2 separate regions of the Homo sapiens genome follow, and region 1 is linked to region 2. The links are contacts of gene promoters, found by promoter capture Hi-C in blood cells and fetal thymus (Javierre and others, 2016). All regions are on one chromosome and are shown on one strand. Each heading gives the region's core, a stretch centred on a gene start or on the middle of the fragment in contact. The rest is flanking DNA. Distances are from core to core; before and after follow the strand shown.

The links. The method cuts DNA at HindIII sites, captures the fragments that hold promoters and counts their contacts. A CHiCAGO score of 5 or more calls a contact.
Region 1: a contact is called between the fragment with the promoter of H2AC18 here and a fragment that was not itself captured in region 2, in 1 of 17 cell types (fetal thymus). The highest score is 5.1, in fetal thymus.

The regions. Positions count from the first base shown.
Region 1 is chr1:149,841,210-149,846,429 of GRCh38, forward strand. H2AC18 (H2A clustered histone 18) reads right to left here and starts at 1,541. Exons shown (of 1, transcript NM_003516.3): 1 at 1,009-1,541. The coding sequence starts at 1,489. The coding sequence ends at 1,097. It also overlaps the pseudogene H2BC19P and a transcript of H4C15 not described here. RefSeq lists an enhancer at 4,116-4,879. The HindIII fragment of the contact is 2,631 bases long and covers 196-2,826 here.
Region 2 is chr1:150,573,610-150,578,426 of GRCh38, forward strand. It overlaps MCL1 (MCL1 apoptosis regulator, BCL2 family member), which reads right to left. Exons shown (of 3, transcript NM_021960.5): 2 at 4,635-4,817; 3 at 949-3,882. The coding sequence ends at 3,766. ADAMTSL4-AS1 (ADAMTSL4 antisense RNA 1) reads right to left here and starts at 943. Exons shown (of 4, transcript NR_104133.1): 1 at 515-943; 2 at 50-212. RefSeq lists enhancers at 4,259-4,817, 4,419-4,817. The HindIII fragment of the contact is 703 bases long and covers 2,583-3,285 here.

The sequences.
Region 1 (5,220 bases), core at 291-2,790, 730 kb before region 2:
CCTAGCCCCGCCGCAGCCGTCTTTATAAGCACAGTCTTTTCCCGATTGGGCGGAACAATAATTGAAAATCCCGCGCTGGCTGTCCATTGGCTGTGACGTCACCCGTCCTAAAGTCACCGGTTGGCTTGGGCAGATTCCTCCCTAATCCCGCCCACCCCGCCTCACTTTCTACTTACCAGTTGGCGAAGTTTCGCAAGCTTGTTTTTCCCCTTTCCTTCAGGGTGAAAGTCATTTTCCATTGCAGCTTTGTCAGATTGTTCCCTTTCCGCCCTTCGCTTCCTTAGAACACACTGCCCGCAATACCCCCCCTTTCTTGCTGCGCCCTACAGCTCCCGCGTGGAACCTCATTCTTCCATTTGCCCCCCGCCCCCAGTTGCTACTTGGCGGATCGTTTTTCGCCTGTCGGGTGCCTTTTGGGTGGGAGAGGTGCCCGCCCCCAGGACGCAAGATTCCGCCTCCGAGGCCCTTACTCTCCGCCGCCAGGGCGCTTTGGAAAACAAAACAGAAACTAAGACTTAAGTCAGCTCAGTGAAGCCAAGACCCAGCTCCGCCACACTAGCGAGCACTACCCGCTCAGGGCCCTCCCCATCGGGGGTGGGGACGAGGAGCACGTCCCGCTGGTGCCAGACTAGGTCTAAGTGTCCGGCCATAGCCTGCGGAAACCACTAGGGAAGCGCGCGCTCCGCGCGCAACACTTCAGCGCGTTGGGTACTGCCCGCGGCGCTGGTGTTTGTGACTGTGTGGAGCGGACCGTGGCGGCGCCCAGGACGTTTGGTGCCTGCACCTGCCCTGGGAAGTCCTAGGACTGGGGACCCACTCATCGAAGAGCCAAGGCAGTTACGTGCTCCAGATGGAAGACGGCGCGCACACACACACACCCCGCCCCGCCCCGCCCCGTCCCGTCCCGTCCCGTCCCGTCCCGTCCCGTCAGCTCCAGGTTCGCTATTCACTACTGAGGAACGCTGGACTGAGAGTGGCCAGCATTAACAACTCTTTTATTTGAAAACGTGGGTGGCTCTGAAAAGAGCCTTTTGAGTTCACAGGTGCCCCTTCGAGACGCGGGCCGGGCTGGGCCCACTTGGGCCGGACGTCAGCCTCACTTGCCCTTTGCCTTGTGGTGACTCTCCGTCTTCTTAGGGAGCAGTACGGCCTGGATGTTAGGCAAGACGCCGCCCTGGGCGATGGTGACTTTGCCCAGCAGCTTGTTCAGTTCCTCGTCGTTGCGGATGGCCAGCTGGAGGTGACGAGGGATGATGCGCGTCTTCTTGTTGTCCCGAGCCGCGTTGCCCGCCAGCTCCAGGATCTCGGCGGTCAGATACTCGAGGACCGCAGCCATGTAGACGGGCGCGCCGGCCCCCACTCGCTCCGCGTAGTTGCCTTTGCGCAGCAAGCGATGCACTCGCCCTACCGGGAACTGAAGGCCAGCGCGGGACGAGCGCGACTTGGCCTTGGCGCGGGCCTTGCCTCCTTGCTTGCCACGACCAGACATGACAGCGATAGTAGTCACCGAGAGAAACTCCTGCCTGGCGATCGGGAAAGTCGCCGAAAACGCCGCTGCTTCACCTTTTTATAGACAGAACGGCGATTGTCCACGGAGCACTTTGATTGGCTCAAGCAAATTTTGTCCCGATAGCCAATAGGATAGCTCAGCCAGAATCCACTCATTTACATAATCTCGTCTCCCTCGCATTGCGCGCCGCGGAAAACTCGCGAACCATAACGCAGCGTCATGCGCACAGCCTCTGTAAGTACACAGTCGTTTCCGGTAGACCCCGAGCCTACCGCTCTGCTTGCGTTCTCGGGGGTCGGTGTCGGTCTTGGGTCTGGCCATGCCTGAGCCTGCAAAGTTCGCGCCGGCTCCCAAGAAGGGCTCCAAGAAAGCCGTCACCAAAGCCCAGAAGAAAGACGGCAAGAAGCGCAAGCGCAGCCGCAAGGAGAGCTACTCCATCTACGTGTACAAGGTGCTGAAGCGGGTCCACCCCGACACCGGCATCTGGTGCAAGGCCATGGGCATCATGAACTCCTTCCTCAACGACATCTTCGAGCGCATCGCGGGAGAGGCGTCCCGCCTGGCGCACTACAACAAGCGCTCCACCATCACGTCCCGGAGATCCAGACGGCCGTGCGCCTGCTGCTGCCCGGCGAGCTGGCCAAGCACGCCGTGTCCGAGGGCACCAAGGCGGTCACCAAGTACGCCAGCTCCAAGTGAGTCCCTGCCGGGACCTGGCGCTCGCTCGCTCCCTCCCTCCCTCCCTCCGCGGGTCGCCGGCTGCTTTGTCTCCAAAGGCTCTTTTCAGGGCCACTTAACCCCGTTAGTGAAATAAGCTGTTTTCCCACTGCTTACTGTGAGTTCTACTTAGGGGTTTTCCCTCAGCACCTATCCCTTTTCCTGCAGATGATGGGAGAGGAATATAAGATAAAGCTATAAGATGTAGCTTGGTCGAGAACTACCTTGTAGTGACAGGGTCATGTGCACATAATTTGCCTTTTCCAAAGTGAGACGATATGCTACGGGTGCGGTCAATGTAAATCTGCTCAGGAGAGTCAAGGGAAAAAGTGTTAACTGCATATTGAGCTCGCAAAATTGTGTAGTAACCTGAAAATATTCCTAATAGTTTTGCGACCAAGCCTCACCATATAAACTTTCCTTCCGCACCTGTAGACCTCCATTCTGTGGTTGAAGCAATTTTTGGTTTATATAGCTCTCTTGTCTCAATTTGGTATTCCTTTCAGGTACTGTGAGTCTATAGGTATTTATTTCTGGGTTTCAAGACGTTAAATGCCATCAGAATTGAGTAATGCAAAGGCTGCTGTCATGGATAGTAAAGCTTTTTAGTCAAGTGCTGATAGACAATTCCCCATTGTTATCGTTGGGTATTTTACAATTTTCTGGGCAAGAAATGTAATGAAAAATTAAGTAAGTTTTAAAGGCCTTCGTCTTTGAGACTGGATACCTAAAACAATAGTGTTTCCTAAACAGTTAAAACTTATTTAACCCTGAAGCTTTCGAGACACACAAATATATACAAATATATATTGTATATTTCTTAAACCCCACATAGTTCCACTGATCTAAATCACTGGGGGCGAGAGGCAAGGATAGACAATCTATGACACAACACCAGGTGATTCATAAGTTTGGTAACCACTGACATTTGATTATGCAGTTGCCATATTCCTTAGTAAGAACCTGGTCACAATTTTCACTCACTACCCCAGGCAATTCCCCCTCCCCACACCCCCCTTTTTTCTGAGAATTTCAGTGAGATATACAAAAGTTTCATTTAATCCTTTATTAATTCCAGACTTTATATATTTTTATTAGGATTTAAAATACATTTCAAAAAGATCAAGTGAGAACAGAAGATAAAAGTACCAAGATAAAGGCATAATACAAACTTAGAAAATACATGTTAAGCATACTGCGGCGTCCTGGTAGCCCCTTGCTTTTGTTCACTTTTTTCTCTTATGTACCTACATAAAATCCCAAATAGTATCTTCCAGGATGACACACTTGCTGTCTGCCCCACCCAATTAAAAACAGATTTTTTAGTTATTAGGTATTGTGCTGAATCTACCTTATTTTATTGCCAAAAGAAAAAAAAAAAAAAGCTTTTCAAAGCTTCATCCCCAGGAAACATTTTCCTGCTTTTACACATACCTTATATGGCTCTACTGAGAGATAAGGCCTAAGCCTGAAAAGTTAATTTAAAGCATGGAGGTAGGGGTGAGACAGAAAGACAACAGGGAAAAGTTGAGTTTATAAGGTAAGTATATATCTTCCTTTTAACAGCCACCTGCATGGCGTTCGGTAAATAACCTAATTATATGTGGGGGAAGGTAGTGGTCAACATTTGGTCCTGGGGACTGAGAATAAGAGCAGGAAAGCAATAAACAGCTAACTATGAGAGTGACTTAATGTAATTATATTACCTGTCAATCGCTACTTTTCCTTTCTTACCAAAATTCACACAGGTATGAAAGCAATATGACATTCAGGCTCCATTATGTGTATTTGTGCACATCACTTCCCACGATAAGGGAGAAGAAAAGAAACCACTGCACATTCGGATAAAACATGCTGGGAATACAGCAGTAAACAGAATAGAAAAAGTCTACATTTTAATTAGCAGATAAGTAAAAATAAGTGACTAAATGTATATTATTCAGGGGGCCATATGTGCAATTGCTGTTAAGTAAAGCAGAACATGGAGTGGAGTAGGGATGACAGGTTTCATCAGTTAATACTTGAGCAGAGAGCTGAATACAGTAAGATAGTTGTAGGATATCTTGAGGCAGAGTATTCTCAGAACAGAACATGGTAAGTACAAAGGCCCCAAGGCAGGAACAAGCTTGGTGAATGTGAGAAATATGCAAGCTGGTTAATGTGGCTGAAGCACAGTGACCAAGGGAAAGTTTTACAGAGATCACGGAGGTGCTTGAGGGCTGGATTATGTAGGCCATTAAGGAGCATCACAGGCCACTGCAGAGATTTTGTCTTTTAAATGAGATAGAGTGCTCTTGGAGAATGTGACTGGAGAGGCCGATGGTAGCAGTGGAGATGCAGAGTAGTAGCCGAGATATTTTAAATGAAATTGATTTAGTATAGGCTGACTGAAAGAGAAATCAAGGATTAATTGTAGGTTTTTACACTGAGCACTTGAAAAGAGCTGCTATTTGCTGATATGAGTAAGGAGTAGTCTTGGAGGAAGAAAACCAAGAGTACTGTTTTGAACAAAATGTTGAAGACTCCTGGTAAATATCGAAGTGTAAATATCAAATAGGAAGTCAGAAATATGAGAATCTGGAGTTTAGGAAAGAGAAGGGGGTTAGGTTTGTAAGATCTCATATCAGTCTGATTCTTATTTTTTTGTAGATAATCTACCCTTTCTTTCTGTAAATGTTTAGAAGCATGATGTCTATGTGTGTATATATACACACACACTCACTCCCCCCCGCCAGGACTGCCTCAGTTTTCATCTCAGTATTTGACTAAAACCTTCTATTCAACTTCAGTTTCAGCCTTAGAATAACCAGATGTCTAAGTCAATGTCATTTGGGGCATCTCTAGACTTGTGCAATCACAAAAGTCACCATTACCGCTACATAGTACGTATTATGACCAATGGATATCATTCAGAGTTCTAGTTTACATATGCTATTATCAAACATATGTAAGCCTTTTAATGTAACTTGGGAGTGAAATTAGTAAAATTCTAT
Region 2 (4,817 bases), core at 1,684-4,183:
TATTATTTAGGTGTTATGATAGAGTAACTGCTGTACAGTACCCTCTTACCTCAAGATCAAGGCTGGGCGCAGTGGCTCAGGTCTGTAATCGCAGCACTTCGGCTGAGGCGAGTGGATCACTGAGGTCAGGACTTCAAGACCAGCCTGACCAACACGGCAAAACCCCGTCTCTACCAAAAATAGAAAAATTAGCCGGGCATGGTGGCGGGCACCTGTAATCCCAGCTACTCGGGAGGCTGAGGTTGCAGTGAGCCGAGATTGCCCCACTGCACTCTAGCCTGGGCAAAAGAGTGAGACTGTGCCTCAAAACAAAACAAAACAAAACATACCAACACCTGGTGATTCAAAAAAATCAAGACAGAGGCTGGGTGCGATGGCTCACGCCTGTAATCCTGGCACTCTGGGAGGCAGAGGTGGGCAGATCACCTGAGGTCGGGAGTTCAAGACCAGCCTGACCAACACGGAGAAACCCCATCTCTACTAAAAATACAAAATTATCTGGGTGTGGTGGCGCATGCCTGTATTCCCAGCTACTCAGGAGGCTGAGGCAGGAGAATCATTTGAACCTGGGAGGCGGAGGTTGCGGTGAGCGGAGATCGTGCCATTGCACTCCAGCCTGGACAACAAGAGCAAAACTCCATCTCAAAAAAAAAATAATAAATAAATAAATCAAGACAGAAATTTTGATTTTAAAGAGGTTTTTGATTTTACTTGGAGGTTTAAGAACTCCTCTAAGTACAGCAGTAATATATTTAATTAAAAACCCAACACCTCTAATTAGAATTGAAGAAAGGAACTGTCCTTTGCTCTAAGGCAAATCAACTTTGTGAGGCTTTTGCTTTGAATTCACCTGTACATATTTGCTCAGCTGACTTCTCTAAAAGGTTTGCCTAAGAGAGGGAAGGAAAAAGAGGCGTCGATGAGAAAAGACCCATATCACACCCTGTATTTGAATAAAAGATTTATTTTTTTTTCTCAGGAAAAACAGAAAGTTAGGGAAACACACTACATTTGACAACCAACATTAATTTGTAGTTGGTCCTAACCCTTCCTGGCACAGCTATCAAAAGTACAGCTGTTTAACCAGAACCAAGGTGTTCACCCCCCACAGAATGTACATGAAACACTAGAGGACTGCATGTTTTTCCCTGAGAGAAGCGTAAGACAAACAGAAGTCAAAAAGTAGTCACTGGGAGCGCCATCCTTCTAAGCAAATCCTCCCTTTCCCTTTTGGAGGATTTGCCCGAACTACGTAGCCAGTCAGCACTTAGACCACCTGCCTCCTCCTCCCCCTATAAACCCACCACTCCCCTCCTCCTTTCCCAAACCACTTGGGGTGTCCTAAGCCCTCACTGCCCCAAGCCCAAAATATCAACTAAGATCCTTGTCTGTATTTCCACAGTCATACCTAATGAATTGGGAAGTGGGGCCCCTAAAAACCAATTCACATCTATGCACTTGTTTCCACTGGATTTGGCAGACAGGCTTTTTTAGTTACCGTAACCAGATCTTAAGATTAATTAAAAACTACATAAAGTGCTTTTAGGTCCTTAGAGATACATGATATAAATAAGCGGCTTATGATCAAGAACGATAAATACATAGGTAAAAATAGCTCTAGCAAAGATGACCTTATGGCTCTGAGATGGGCAGGCAGGGCAGTTCTTCCCCATTACATTCTTAGTCATCTTATTCATACCTATTTTTAAATGGAGTCCACAGACTAAAGGTCATGTTCCGAGACTGAAGCTTTCAAATGACCCTAGTTCCAATATAGACACTTTCTTCAGTTTATCAGTAGCTTTTAAACTCTGAGGTTTAACACAGCTCACCTCTTTCTGTAAATTTAAGTGAGCATACTCCTATACAAAGGAAACTTTAGAGAAAGCCTCATAAAATGTTCTTTCCTCTGAAAATTCCTGAGGGGACTTTTGACACATTGCCCCCAAAGACAGGATAAAACAATAGTTGAAAAGATACCAGTCCAAGGAAAAGGGACTTCCTCCCACCTCTCAATGACTGTTAGTGTCACAGCACCCATGGTATTACCACCTGCTAACAGGATCAAGTTCGTGAAAGATGAAAGGTCTGTGGACTCTTGGTGGGGAGGGAGGGTCACTCAGGTTTCCAGCAGGGGTTTCACAGTGCCAAAATCTAAAAGGGCTAGAAAGAGTTCAGGGATGGCAGGGGAAAGCTGTAGGAATTGATATAAATATCTGTAGAGGGAGCAGAACAATCAGCAATTTCAAGGAAGGACAGGAAATAAAAGGTTAAGTCTGATAGAACAAACATCAAGACTGAAATCCAAAGATGCCAATGCAAAAACTTGCAACAAGGTTTGGGAATCATTAATAGAAACAAAACAGTAAGTATTTGCTTTATTGACATACTAGGCTTAGACCTGTGTGTGTAACAAGCAAGCCTAATAATAGCACCATGGTTAGACTAGCCTGCTTTTCCAAGCCATCATTTTATAATTTATTAAGCAAACAAGGGATCAAATGTCTCTCCATCCACCTGATGTGATCTTTTTATATGCACACAGCTAATGAGTTCCATTCAGCTGAAAATCTTTTAGTAAAAGCTTTAAAGATGAGCCCATGAATTCACTTTAAATTTCACCAGTTAAATTAGGTCAAATGGAAGGAACTCAAATGAGTATTGCCCAATCAGAGCCCATTATTTGTAAGTCATCAGTAACCTTAAAACTCCACTTAGACCTAATTATTGAAAACTTGCATATAATGAAGTGAAAGAATTTCCATTCATCAACCTCTCAATCCCAGGTTTTCAAAGAAAAACCTAAGGAATACTTACCAAAATCAGATAAGAAAATTTAAACCTGCATAGTTATCAGATTTGTTCCACTACAACCAGTCTGCATACAGTTACACATCAATTCGTTCTGTATACACTCTAGAACTGAACAGAACAAAGTTTAGCATAGAAAAGCTGTAAGAAACAGGTTCCTAATTACGGAAGTTGCAAAGTTCAAAAGGGTATGAAAAAAACTAATGTAAATTCGATACTTCCTTCGTTTCAAAGAAATAGACTTTCTGTAAAAATATATACAATTTTTACAAATACATTTACAAGCTGTCTTAAGAATTGAGGATATCCATATTCATAACTAATTACTGAGCCTTCCGTCAAGTATTATTGGTGATAAACTAGGCTAATAAAGTAAGAATCATGGAAACCAAGCCAAAGTATAACAGGTATAAAAGTCCTGAACACTTGGACTTTCTAAGAAGTATACTGGGAAAGCTAATTAGAGAGAGGAAAAGCTTCCCTTGTACAGTACTGAGGCTTACAGTCATAGTTCTATTACTTGTAACTTTTACACAGGTCACTGGCATTCTTAGTGCTTCTCTTAACACTACAGTAAATTAATGAATTCGGCGGGTAATCAATTCTATGACTTGCCTGGCTACTGGCCACTTTCCTGTTCTCAACAAGGAAATTAAGTCTTTCCACCCTACCATCTTCACTAAATCTAAAAGTCCTCCTCCATAGCTTCCCAAACAAAGTTTGTTTGTTGCTGAAACTGAACTTTGCTTCTTTCAGACAGTGACTCTTCAATCAATGGGGAGCACTCTTCCCATGTATTTATTCTTGTTAGCCATAATCCTCTTGCCACTTGCTTTTCTGGCTAGGTTGCTAGGGTGCAACTCTAGGAAGTTACAGCTTGGAGTCCAACTGCATAAACTGGTTTTGGTGGTGGTGGTGGTTGGTTAAAAGTCAACTATTGCACTTACAGTAAGGCTATCTTATTAGATATGCCAAACCAGCTCCTACTCCAGCAACACCTGCAAAAGCCAGCAGCACATTCCTGATGCCACCTTCTAGGTCCTCTACATGGAAGAACTCCACAAACCCATCCTAGAAAACAAAAAAGAAAAGCACATTTTCAAGTATGGGTTTCTGCTCTCTTACAACACTACTATCCAGAGAGAAGGTAAATTAAAATATCTAAGGTTTCCCCCTAAAGCAATAGTAAACCAATTATTATTCACCCCGGGGCAAAAAAAGAAAATAAGTTCTTCAGTTTCTTAAGCGGGGACCCATGATAATTAAACTTCATTTTACAGTACTATCTTGGTCTTATTAGGATTTATCCTAACAAAAGGACTTCCAGAGTTCCCATGAGGTAAAAGACGAAAACCCTTATTCTCAAATCTCCACCACCTAATATTTCAGTAACGCCTCAATTGCGCAGATCAGTTTTTCTCAACGTAGTTAAGTACATCCTGCATCAGATCTGGGTTTGTTTAAAACGCAGGCTCCACCCCATATCTTCTCCATTAAAACAGGCACCGCCTTAGGAATTATTTCAGCTATCCTCCCCTGGTGACTTATTTTTTCATGGTTTGAATCCACTGAAGAGTATTCAACTGAATTGGAACAAAAAATTGCCTAGAGAAAACCAAGATTTTTGATACAATTCAAGACCGCCATACCACTATCTCTAAGGATCCACTACTTAAATCAACATCAAATAAACAATGGTCCTTTAGTTAGAGCCTGCAAACAGCCGTGCGTCATAAAAACCTTTAGATATCCCCACCTCTCTAAAAAAAATCCTTCATTCTACTTCCACTCCAAGGCCCCTTTCATCCTTAAGGCAAACTTACCCAGCCTCTTTGTTTAACTAGCCAGTCCCGTTTTGTCCTTACGAGAACGTCTGTGATACTTTCTGCTAATGGTTCGATGCAGCTTTCTTGGTTTATGGTCTTCAAGTGTTTAGCCACAAAGGCACCAAAAGAAATGAGAGTCACAATCCTGCCCCAGTTTGTTACGCCGTCGCTGAAAACATG